2 separate regions of the Homo sapiens genome follow, and region 1 is linked to region 2. Evidence: promoter capture Hi-C in human tissues and cell types (Jung and others, 2019). All regions are on one chromosome and are shown on one strand. Each heading gives the region's core, a stretch centred on a gene start or on the middle of the fragment in contact. The rest is flanking DNA. Distances are from core to core; before and after follow the strand shown. Region 1 holds the start of PRPF3 (pre-mRNA processing factor 3). Region 2 holds the start of ECM1 (extracellular matrix protein 1).

Evidence for each region. Contacts are between HindIII fragments. The study calls those that stand out against the background at their distance.
Region 1: the fragment with the promoter of PRPF3 here is called in contact with the fragment with the promoter of ECM1 in region 2 in 1 of the 25 tissues and cell types used here (liver).

What each region holds. Positions count from the first base shown.
Region 1 is chr1:150,319,893-150,325,038 of GRCh38, reverse strand. It overlaps PRPF3 (pre-mRNA processing factor 3), which reads right to left and starts at 3,506. Exons shown (of 16, transcript NM_004698.4): 1 at 3,447-3,506; 2 at 1-144. The coding sequence starts at 96. RefSeq lists enhancers at 3,408-3,457, 3,648-3,697, 3,827-4,392. The HindIII fragment of the contact is 24,557 bases long and covers 1-5,146 here.
Region 2 is chr1:150,504,198-150,509,402 of GRCh38, reverse strand. It overlaps ECM1 (extracellular matrix protein 1), which reads right to left and starts at 1,294. Exons shown (of 10, transcript NM_004425.4): 1 at 1,124-1,294. The coding sequence starts at 1,193. It overlaps TARS2 (threonyl-tRNA synthetase 2, mitochondrial), which reads right to left. Exons shown (of 18, transcript NM_025150.5): 14 at 4,968-5,068; 15 at 4,670-4,771; 16 at 4,425-4,497; 17 at 3,698-3,812; 18 at 1,801-2,487. The coding sequence ends at 2,339. The HindIII fragment of the contact is 11,585 bases long and covers 1-5,205 here.

The sequences.
Region 1 (5,146 bases), core at 2,257-4,756, 190 kb after region 2:
TGTGACCACCGTAGGCTCTGAGAAACCCAGGACCCTCTTCACTGTCTTCTCTATCCATGGTTTCAGCTCATCCAGCTCCCTCTTTGACAGTGCCATTTTTCAGGAAAAAGAGAACAATAGCTCAAACAGGACTCAATACTACACCTAAAAAAAAAAAAGAGACAAGTTAGAGAATAAGAAAAGACTAAAGTGGGCTGGGTGCAGTGGCTCATGCCTGTAATCCCAGCACTTTGGGAGGCCAAGGTGGATGGACTGCCTGGGGTCAAGAGTTCGAGACCAGTCTGGCCAACATGGTGAAACCCTGCCTCTACTAAAAATACAAAAAAATTAGCTGGGCGTGGTGGCATGTGCCTGTAATCCCAGCTACTTGGGAGGCTGAGGCAGGGGAATAACCAGGGAGGTAGAGCTTGCAACAAGTCAAAATCGCACCACTGCACTCCAGCCTGGGCGACAAAGCAAGACTCTCTCTACAAAAAAAAAAAAGACTAAAGTGATCCAGGGAAATGGTTAGTACATCAGGAATGCATTCCCCAGCCCTATTCTCAATCCCTAGACAAGTTTTTCCAACTCATTTGAAGGCAAATATTTTCCCCAAGAACCATATCTCAAAGCAGAAAGAGATCCCATTTGATTTTTAATTCTAACTCTTAAGTTGATCAATGAAATCTGCGGAATAAACAAACTCTGTGAATAAGCTAAGTCTGAGAAATTAGTTCTAGCTTCTTTCTTGATCCTGTCATATCAACAAGGACTTGCAAACCTAGTAACACTAAAACAGAACTAAAAAAGCCCATCCAGAGGCCAGCTTTTCCATTCTTCCTACTTCCAGGCAGGCATTCCCTAACCCAACCCTGACTTATGTAGGATTCCCTTCTTTTAAGGTATGCAAGTAAAAGAGGGTTTATCCAGGTCAGTCATCTTAGATATTAAATTAAATCTCATGATCTTTAAGAATGTTCTGGCCGGGCGCGGTGGCTCACGCCTGTAATCCCAGCACTTTGGGAGGCTGAGGCAGGTGGATCACGAGGTCAGGAGTTCAAGACCAGCCTGGCCAAGATGGTGAAACCCCATCTCTACTAAAAACTACAAAAAAATTTAGCTGGGCATGGTGGCAGGCGCCTGTAATCCCAGCTACTCGGGAGGCTGAGACAAGAGAATCACTTGAACCCAGGCAGCAGAGGTTGCAGTGAGCCAAGATCGCGCCACTGCACTCCAGCCTGGGCAACAGAGTAAGACTCCGTCTCAAAAAAAAAAAAAAAGAATGTTCTGTCACATTTCTCTGTGGTCATATTCATCCCAGTGGGAATTCTGCATACAGGTAATTATCATGTTCAATCTACAGGGTCTCCATCAGCTGACTTGATGATCCTTCAGCTCAGAAAAGAATACCCTCATTTTTATTTTGAGACAGAGTCTCACTCCGTCGCCCAGGCTGGAGTGCAGTGGCGTAATCTTGGTTCACTGCAACCTCCATCTCCTGGGTTCACTTGATTCTCCTGCCTCAGCCTCCCAAGTAGCTGGGACTACAGGCATGCACCACCACGCCTGGCCAATTTCGTAGTTTTAATAAAGACACGGTTTCACCATATCGGCCAGGTAATGCCTTACCTCAAGTGATCTGCCCACCTTGACCTCCGAAAGTTCTGGGATTACAGGCGTGACCCACTGCACCTGTCTCTACTAAAAATACAAAAATTAGCCAGGTGAGGTGGTGGGCACCTGTAATCCCAGCTACTTATGAGGCAGAGGCAGGAAAATCACTTGAACCCAGGAGGCGGAGGTTGCGGTGAGCCAAAATCATGTGCACTCCAGCCTGAGCGACAGAGTGAAACTGTGTCTCCAAAAAAAAAAAAAAAAAAAAAAAAGCCAGGTGCGGTGGCTCACGCCTGTAATCCCAACACTTTGGGAGGCCAAGGCGGGTGGATTATCTGACGTCAGGAGTTCGAGACCAGCCTGGCCAACATGGTGAAACCGCATCCCTATTAAAAATACAAATATTAGCTGGGCGTGGTGACCTGCACCTGTAATCCCAGCTACTCTGGAGGCTGAGACAGGAGAATCCCTTGAACATGGAAGGCGGAGGTTGCAGTGAGCCGAGATCGCACCACTGCACTCCAGCCTGGGCGACAGAGCAAGACTCCGTCCCGGGGAAAAAAAAAAAAGGTGTCTAAATGGGAGTCAATAAATTGACTGACCTCAATTTCCAAGCTCAGCTATTCCCAGCAGTGCCACTTATCAAAGATCTGGGAATCATCTTTCAAGATGTTTTAAGACATCTTTTCTCCAAAAAATCCAGTCTGATTAACTTCTACATTCTTGGTAAGTTTAGCCTCTATACTAGAGTCTATAAGACTTGATGCCAAATAGACTCACTTTTGGTATATCCAAAGGAAGCTAGTAGATTGAAGTGATGAAACTAAGACTGAAAGATTTTCTGCCTCAGTGACAAGTTACGTGAGTAATTCTATGGTGGTTCTATTACCCCACAATGAGTAGACATACAGCGTACCAATTTCTACATATTACACATGTATTGCACAAAAGCGGCATATCCAGATGCCATAGAAAGTGAAAACAAGAGTTCACACAGAAACAGTTGGGACACTGAGCCCCACCATTTACAAGCCCTTGGGCAAGTTAAGTAATTCTTTGGAGCCACAGTTTACCATCTTACAAAATGAGTACTGCCATATTTACATCCTAATTCATTCAATAAATATTTATTGAGTAACTACTAAGTGTCAAGCAATGTACTAGGTGCGGTGGATACATAAAACAGTGAGCAAAACTAACAAGAGTCCTCACCTTAACGGGTCTTATATTCCACTAGAATTGAATGATAGGCTAGAAAGTATAAGCAATTTGAAAGCCCAAAGCAATAAATGAGGTGCCACTGTTACCTCCATAAGATGACGTGCAAACTAAACAGCCAATGGATAAAAAAGTTTCAAACGGTAATTAGCCTTGTCACTAATCAAATGCTCAACAATAACTGCGAGGTGCGGGGGTAGTGGGGGTGCGGAAGGAAAGCGAGGTACAATGATCTCTCCTCTCAATGAGCAGGCAGCAGAATCCAAATCCAGTCTTCAGAAGGAATTCCTTACTCCGTGCTCTTGTTTGCTACAACCTGAGTTTCCCTCTGCAGCCCCCCACTCCCCCGCTAATCTTCATTTTTACTCTCTCCGTCACTCCAACCAGTCTCTTACTCTACCTTGTTCTACCTAAACTCCTCACCCCAGAGCTGGTCTCCCAACCCGGTCTCCTTCCCGCCCCCGCCCTTTTCCTCTCAACAATCTCATTCCAACCTCTTCTCCCACCAAACCAGGTACTCCTTTCACACTCCTTCCCGCTGAACCCTCCCGCTTCGGTCCTCCCCTTGGACTGAGTCCCCGGCCACAGTGGCGCGGACTGGAATTACCCTCTGTGGGCCCGGGGCCACTACTCACCTCACAAACTTCAGCCCCTGAGACGGAGCCCGAACGTTACACCGGAACCGGAAACCTTCTGACCGCCCTACGGCGTGCCGTCGCTACCGCCACCGCCGCCGCCACGCCGCTGTCTCCCAACACGTGACCAAGGAGGGCCGGGCCGCCAATTCGCGCAGCCGTATTTGCCACTTTCTTGGAGGCTGAACGCATGCGTCGCAGAACCGAAAAGTTTCCCTGAGCAATTTCCTTGCTTTCTATTTCCCAGGCTAAACCTATTAGCTAGATTTCTGCCAAGGTTTTTTTTTTAGCTTTTTTTTTGAGACGGAGTCTCGCTCTGTCGCCCAGGTTGGAGTGCAGTGACGCGATCTCGGCTCACTGCGAGCTCCGCCTCCCGGGTTCACGCCATTCTCCTGCCTCAGCCTCCCGAGTAGCTGGGACTACAGGCGCCCGCCACCACGCCCGGCTGATTTTTTGTATTTTTAGTAGAGCCGGGGTTTCACCGTGTTAGCCAGGATGGTCTCGATCTCCTGGCCTCGTGATCCGCCCGCCTCAGCCTTCCAAAGTGCTGGGATTACAGGCGTGAGCCACCGCGCCCGGCCGATTTCTGCCAAGTTAATGTCTTTAACTTCCTGAAGCGGAAATTGGGCTACTTGCTGTTTTCCTCATATGGAGAATAAGTGCGCAAAAGTAAACTTAGGCTAGAATGAAGAGCGAGGCTTCTGCGTTTGTGTTCAAACACAGCCTTTCTGGTAGAAAGTAAACCCTTTCTCCCTAATTTAACAGTGGTGTCAGGCCGGGCGCCGTGGCTCACGCCTGTAATCCCAGCACTTTGGGCTCAATAAATGACAAGTGAGACCTACCAGTATTGTTTTCTCCATTCTATCAATAGGTCTATATATTAACTTCTCTCCAAAATGAGGCTCTAACCTACTGACCCTTTATTTTTTATTTTTATTTTTTATTTTTTGAGACGGAGTCTCGCTCTGTCGTCAGGCTGGAGTGCATTCGGCTCACTGAAACTTCCGCCTCCCGAGTAGATGGGACTACAGGCGCGCGACCACCACGTCCAGCTAACTTTTGTATTTTTAGTAGAGACGGGGTTTCACCATGTTGGCCAGGATGGTCTCCATCTCTTGACCGCGTGATCCGCCCACCTCGGCCTCCCAAAGTGCTGGGATTACAGGGTTGAACCACCGCGCCCGGCCCCTACTGACTCTTTAAATCGATGATTCATAACAACATGTGTGTGGACAAAGATAGTTTGGAAAAAGATTGTCCAGTATTATGACACAATTTCTTATATGAGAAATGGAAAAAATTCCATTATTTTTATATTATAAACTATCCAAACTAAAGTTCCAAAATGTCTTCTTGGTGGTAGGCTGACTAGAAGATGCAGTTGTTCTTCAGGGAGGTTATTCACATTCCCCAGATAGTAGGAGATTTTTGTATCTAAAGATAACAATGTACATACCAAGCCCCACCTTCCCTGATGGGGCAGCACGACATAACAGGATAAAGCCTGGCTCTGAAGGAACAAGTTGGGGGAGTTTGAACCTACTGCTCAACTTATTCACAAATCAGTTTCCCCACCTACAGCTTCTAACACCAATGTCTCACAAAATATTCACTCAAAAAGTCTGTTGAATGGGTTAATGAGTTTCAACATTGCAGGGTTGTTGTAAATTTATTTTGTTTTGGTGCTTCTAACAGTCTGC
Region 2 (5,205 bases), core at 45-2,544:
CACCTGCCCCGTGTCCCCTAATCCTCTCCCAGCCCCAACACACCTAGACATGACCAGCTGGGTTCTGAGAAAGCCTGTGGCGGTCTGATAGCTCCACCTCTACTGGCTCAGAGGTTGGGCCTAAAGGGAGTATGGCATACGGGATTGGGGAGGGAGGCCCTCATTTCCTCTGCCAGTCTTTCCCTCAGGGCTGTGGGTTGTCCTCCCCAGTCTCTGCTGGGATGCGTCTCTAGCTTTCAGAGGAAAAAGTCTGGACCTTGAGCTGGTTGGAGCCTACCCAATCCACCTCCTCCACCCACCCTCCTACTCCAGGCCCTTGAAACATCTTTAGGCCTTTGGTTAAGGAGGCTTCCTGAAGGTTGAGTGCTTCCCCTTCAGCCAGTCTCAGCTCCGCCTTAGTTTAGGTCTCAATTTAGGGCCTGGGGGACTGGGACAGGCACAGGGAAGGGTCACTTGTAGGTGATCTGCAGACACAAAAGACCAGGAGCTGGGAAGAATGATGGCATGGGGCTTCACAGAGAAGTGGACAGATTTGCTGACATCCTCAGCAGCTTCCTGCAGGAGTGCCCTGGGTGGTTTTTTTCCTTTTCTTTTCCTTTTTTTCTTAGTTTCCACCCATAGCATTGAGGGGTTCCTGTTTTGTTCAGGCATCAAAGCAGATAAAGAATGTGTTTGTGCTGGATGGAGGGTGGGTCTGTGGATGGACACCCCTCAACTCCTCTAATCAGACAGGGAGTCAGTCGAGGCTTGCTGGGCCAGCAATCCGGTTTTGAGCAGCCTGGGGGCCCCTTTTCCCTCCCTTGCCTCTCCCACCAGCCACCTCCCTACATCCTCATCAGCAGGAGACCCTCACTCTGTGAACCCACCCCCCACTCAGTTGTCTATTTGACTGGGATTCTGTGTTTCTTGGCAGCAGTTTCTAGGAACCCCTCTCCTTCTGTGCCCCTGCTCTCTGCCTCCTTGGTTAAAGGCTCCACTGGCCTAGGCCCACTTTGGGCCTGCTCAGAAAAGGAAAGCCAAACGGAGAATCACTCTGCTAGTGATGAGCCGTCTGGGATGCCTGGACCCAGACCCCTGCCATGCAAGCCCAGACCCCCTCCTAAGTGCTGATCCCCCAACTCACCTCCCTCAGAGGCAGCAGAAGCAACAGCCAAATAGGTCAAGACCAAGGCTGCTCTGGCTGTGGTCCCCATCCTGGGGCAACTGACCACTGGACACTCAGAGGTGGGTCCTCTCAGGCAAGTCTGGATGTGAAGGGCCGGCCACTGAAGCTTGTCTGGTGGCTGTTACGGTTGTGAGCTTCAGGACCAGCTCTTCTTTTATAATTGTCTGGTGTGATCTCCCGCCCTCCTCAGCTTCCTGCCATGACTCAGTCCCAGCTGCTCCTCCTCTGGAAGCCACTCCTCCCAAAGTCACCCTGAAGCCTCCTCAGAGGATTGAGAAGAATGGGACTGATTAGAGGAGAACATTCTTATGACCTTCAAGAGAAACTGATTCAGAGAATCCAGGAGCAAGAGGTGTTTGAGCCCCTAGTTTGTGCCTCAGTTTCTCCATCTACAGGCTGCCTTCTGTGGAGAGGGGATCTGCCAACTCATGAACTGGGGTTGGGGAAACAGGGCACAAAGGAGTTTACAGCGGGGAGCAGGAAACCTATCCAAGGGATCTCCCCTACCAGTGTGAGGTCTGGACTGTCCCTTTTCAATTTCCCTAACTCTCTGGGACAAAAAAGAGGGAGACAAAGTGGAACATCCTTTTATCCCACCTCTCCAGAGTCAGAGATGAAGACATATGACCAGCAGCTTCCAGTTTGTATTTATTTATTTATTTATTTATTTAGAGACAGAGTCTCGCTCTGTCGCCTAGGGGGGTGCAGTGGCGCAATCTCAGCTCACTGCAACCTCTACCTCCCGGGTTCAAGCGATTCTCCTGCCTCAGCCTCCTGAGTAGCTGGGATTACAGGCGTGTGCCACCATGCCCGGCTAATTTTTTGTATTTTTAGTAGAGACAGGGTTTCACCGTGTTAGCCAGGGTGGTCTTGATCTCCTGACCTCATGATCCGTCCGCCTCAGCCTCCCAGAGTGCTGGGATTACAGGCATGAGCCACTGCGCCTGGCCCAATTTATTTTTTTTTGTAGTTTCATTCTCCTCACATCCAAACAGCTACAGCTTCCCTCCTTTTGTGGGGTCCCCAAACCAAGTCTCTTTTCAGGAGAGCAGACATGTGCCTCCACACAGTTCTGAAGTTCTGGGGGCTCCACATTGTCAGCTGGGTTGGGGTCTCCCATGTGAGGGAGGCTGATGGCACTCGCAGGTTTTTGCCTCATCTATGTACAAAGGCTCAGAAAATTTCTTCGGCATTTGGGACCCTCGTGTTCTGTAGCTCCACCAGTCGCTGCACAGCCTCAGGCAAGTCCCACTCCCCAAGGCGACGATTATCTCGAGTCCGAATGTTCACTGTTCTCTTACTTTGCTCTTTCTGGCCAACCACTGCAGGTAGAGGAAGTTTGGGAACCTCAGGGCAAATTCACCCACATGGAACAGTTTCTTTTGCTCTGCAGAAACTTGAGAGACCTAAATCTTTAGGAAGGGTGGGAGCAGAGCCCAGATATGGTTCACAGAAAGGAAGTATTCAGCTGTGTCTGCTAATACTAAATGACCAGTCCTGCTCATCCTGAGGAGACAAGGAAGTGCTTCAGTCCCCGCAGGCCTTATCGCTTCTGGTCAAGAGCCCCAGGGTCAGAGACATAAGAGTCAAGCAGAGAAAGACAAACACTGAGAACCCCACAGAGAGAAACTGTGTGTGTGTGTGTGTGTGTGTGTGTGTGTGTCAGAGACATTAGAGTCAAGCAGAGAAAGACAAACAATGAGAACCCCACAGAGAGAAACTGTGTGTGTGTGTGTGTGTGTGTGTGTGTGCGCGCGCGTGTCTGAAGGGGGTATTAGAGCAAGTGGAAGGTGGCAGGAGTGGTGTGGCCTTCACACTGCCCCGCCTCCCCCCAACCACTCTGACCCTTAGAACAGTTTCCTCTCATCAGTCCCACTCTGGCTCTTGGTGTCTGTTAGGGCTGGATTCACAGAGTGAGGGGCCTCTGCTGAGGAGGATGTATGCAGGGGCTGACTGGGCGGTAAGGGAGGGAAAGGGGCCATGTACAAGTCCCTGGGATTGCAGCACAGCTTGCTCTGGGTGCTTGTAGGGAGAGTGGGGTGTGCAAAACTCAAGAATCAGGTAATCTGGCTGAGGAGTTTCTGCTCCTCACCTTTGAGATAGAGCCCTGAACCCTGGAAAATGAAAAAGGGAGCATGGCAGTGCCAGAATTTTCTCCCTAAGGCCTTTCTCCTCATCCCTTAGGGCTGATTCCATCTAGGTCTAAAATAAACAAGGGTAATTAACGCTGTATTAACCCTCCCGTCCCTTTCTCTCTGATGCTCCCTTGGTTAATTAACCTAACAGACACCAACAGCTAGAGTGGAGTTAAAAAGAGGAAAACTATTTTGAGTGTCAGAAGTGGTTATGGGGAGGGCAGGGCAATGTGAAGGAACACAGGGCCCAAATGAGTCAGGTGTCCTGAATCCTGGCTCCTACCTGCTCAGGTAATGAGCCCCAATTAACCCAAATATGCATTACCAGACTTGGTAAACTTAACAGCAAGAATGCAGACGGCAGGTGGGAGAACATTGGCTCTGAGGTTCAGCTTACCAAACTGAAAATTGTAGTGGGCAAGCTGGGCCCGGCGGATTCTCCGGCTGAGGGTCAGTCCAGAGTCTGCATCCAGGTCACTGACCAGTCCTGCAGCCCGCAGGCTCTGCTGTGCCTGCAACAGAGGTTTGGTGACAGGAAGTTAATTTACTGGAAAGTTAAGGAGCTAGAACAGTCTGATGCTCTTTTCCCTCAATGCCCCCATCTGTTCCTCCTTTCCCTGCCTCGGGGCTCTCCACTTCTTACCAGCAACCTCTCCTCATTTCATCTCCACATTGAGGCCTCCTCCCCATTCATCCCCAACCCCACAATCTTTCTGCCTCCTACTGGAGATGACCCCCCAGTTATTCCGTGGACTTTGCCTTCTAGCCACTGCTCTACCCAACCAGCTGTTTGACTCTGGTACCATCCATATCCTCAATTCTCTCTAGAAAGGAAAAATAAAACTGTGTACTCAATCCCAGTTTTGTGCCAAGTGCTCTTTTGGTGGCTTTCAACATTTGTTAATTTGTTTAATTTTCATACATCTCTACAAGGTAGGCATTAGTCACATTTTTTAGATACAGGATTTCCAGCATCTAGGACAGCAGCCACTCGAGCCCAGTCTTGTGGCTGTGAGGGCTGTGCTCCTTCCTCTACCACCCCTGCAGCCTCTTCCTGCCCACTGCAGGGCACCAGACTCTCTACTGGACCTGCTTCTGCCCCCTCCCTTACCTCAACTCCTTACCTCTTTGGCGTATTCCTCTTGCTCACTCCCCACAGGGATGACCACCACCTGGAACGGGGACAGCCACAGTGGCCTGGTAGGGAAAGAACAGGTGATGGCAAATTAGTCACTCTGGCTCTGGCCAGAAGTGTGCTTGTATGGAGCAGACTTGAGAAGGAAAGAGGCTGGCATATGAAGGGGGACAGGATCTGGAGCATAACTATCCGGTTTGGGGCCAGAACAGAAATCCAGGTCAGAGGTCTCACCATTTCCCCCCGCAGCTTTCTGCCAGCACTCCCAACAGTCTTTCCACAGAACCGAGCACTGCTCGGTGAATGAGGACTGGACGCTCCAGGGCACCCGCCTGCCTTGAAAGGAAAAAGGGGGGGGTGGATGGAATGGTGGAAGTATCACGAATTGTGTACCCAAGATCACCTTCCAGTTTTTAAGAAATATTCAGCTCTGGCAGGAGAGGGTGTGGAGGGTTTAGTTTTTAGGGCCAAAGGCAGAAGGACTTATTCCATGCACTGTCAAGGGAAAAGAGGATAGGGCAAGGTTTTATACCCCTTATACTGGAGGTCAAATCTCAGGGGCAGTTGGAAGTCAAGCTGAATTGTCCCACACTGATGTGGCCGGCCCAGGGCATCGTGGAGGTGCACGTCAATCTACAGGAAACAGATGGGAAGGCACGAGATAAGCCAGAAGCACTATCCAGAACCACTATCCTCCATTACCTGTGCCATCCCACCCTTTAACCTACCCTCATCCCGGGCTACTACCTTCATCATGTCACCTAGCTCTA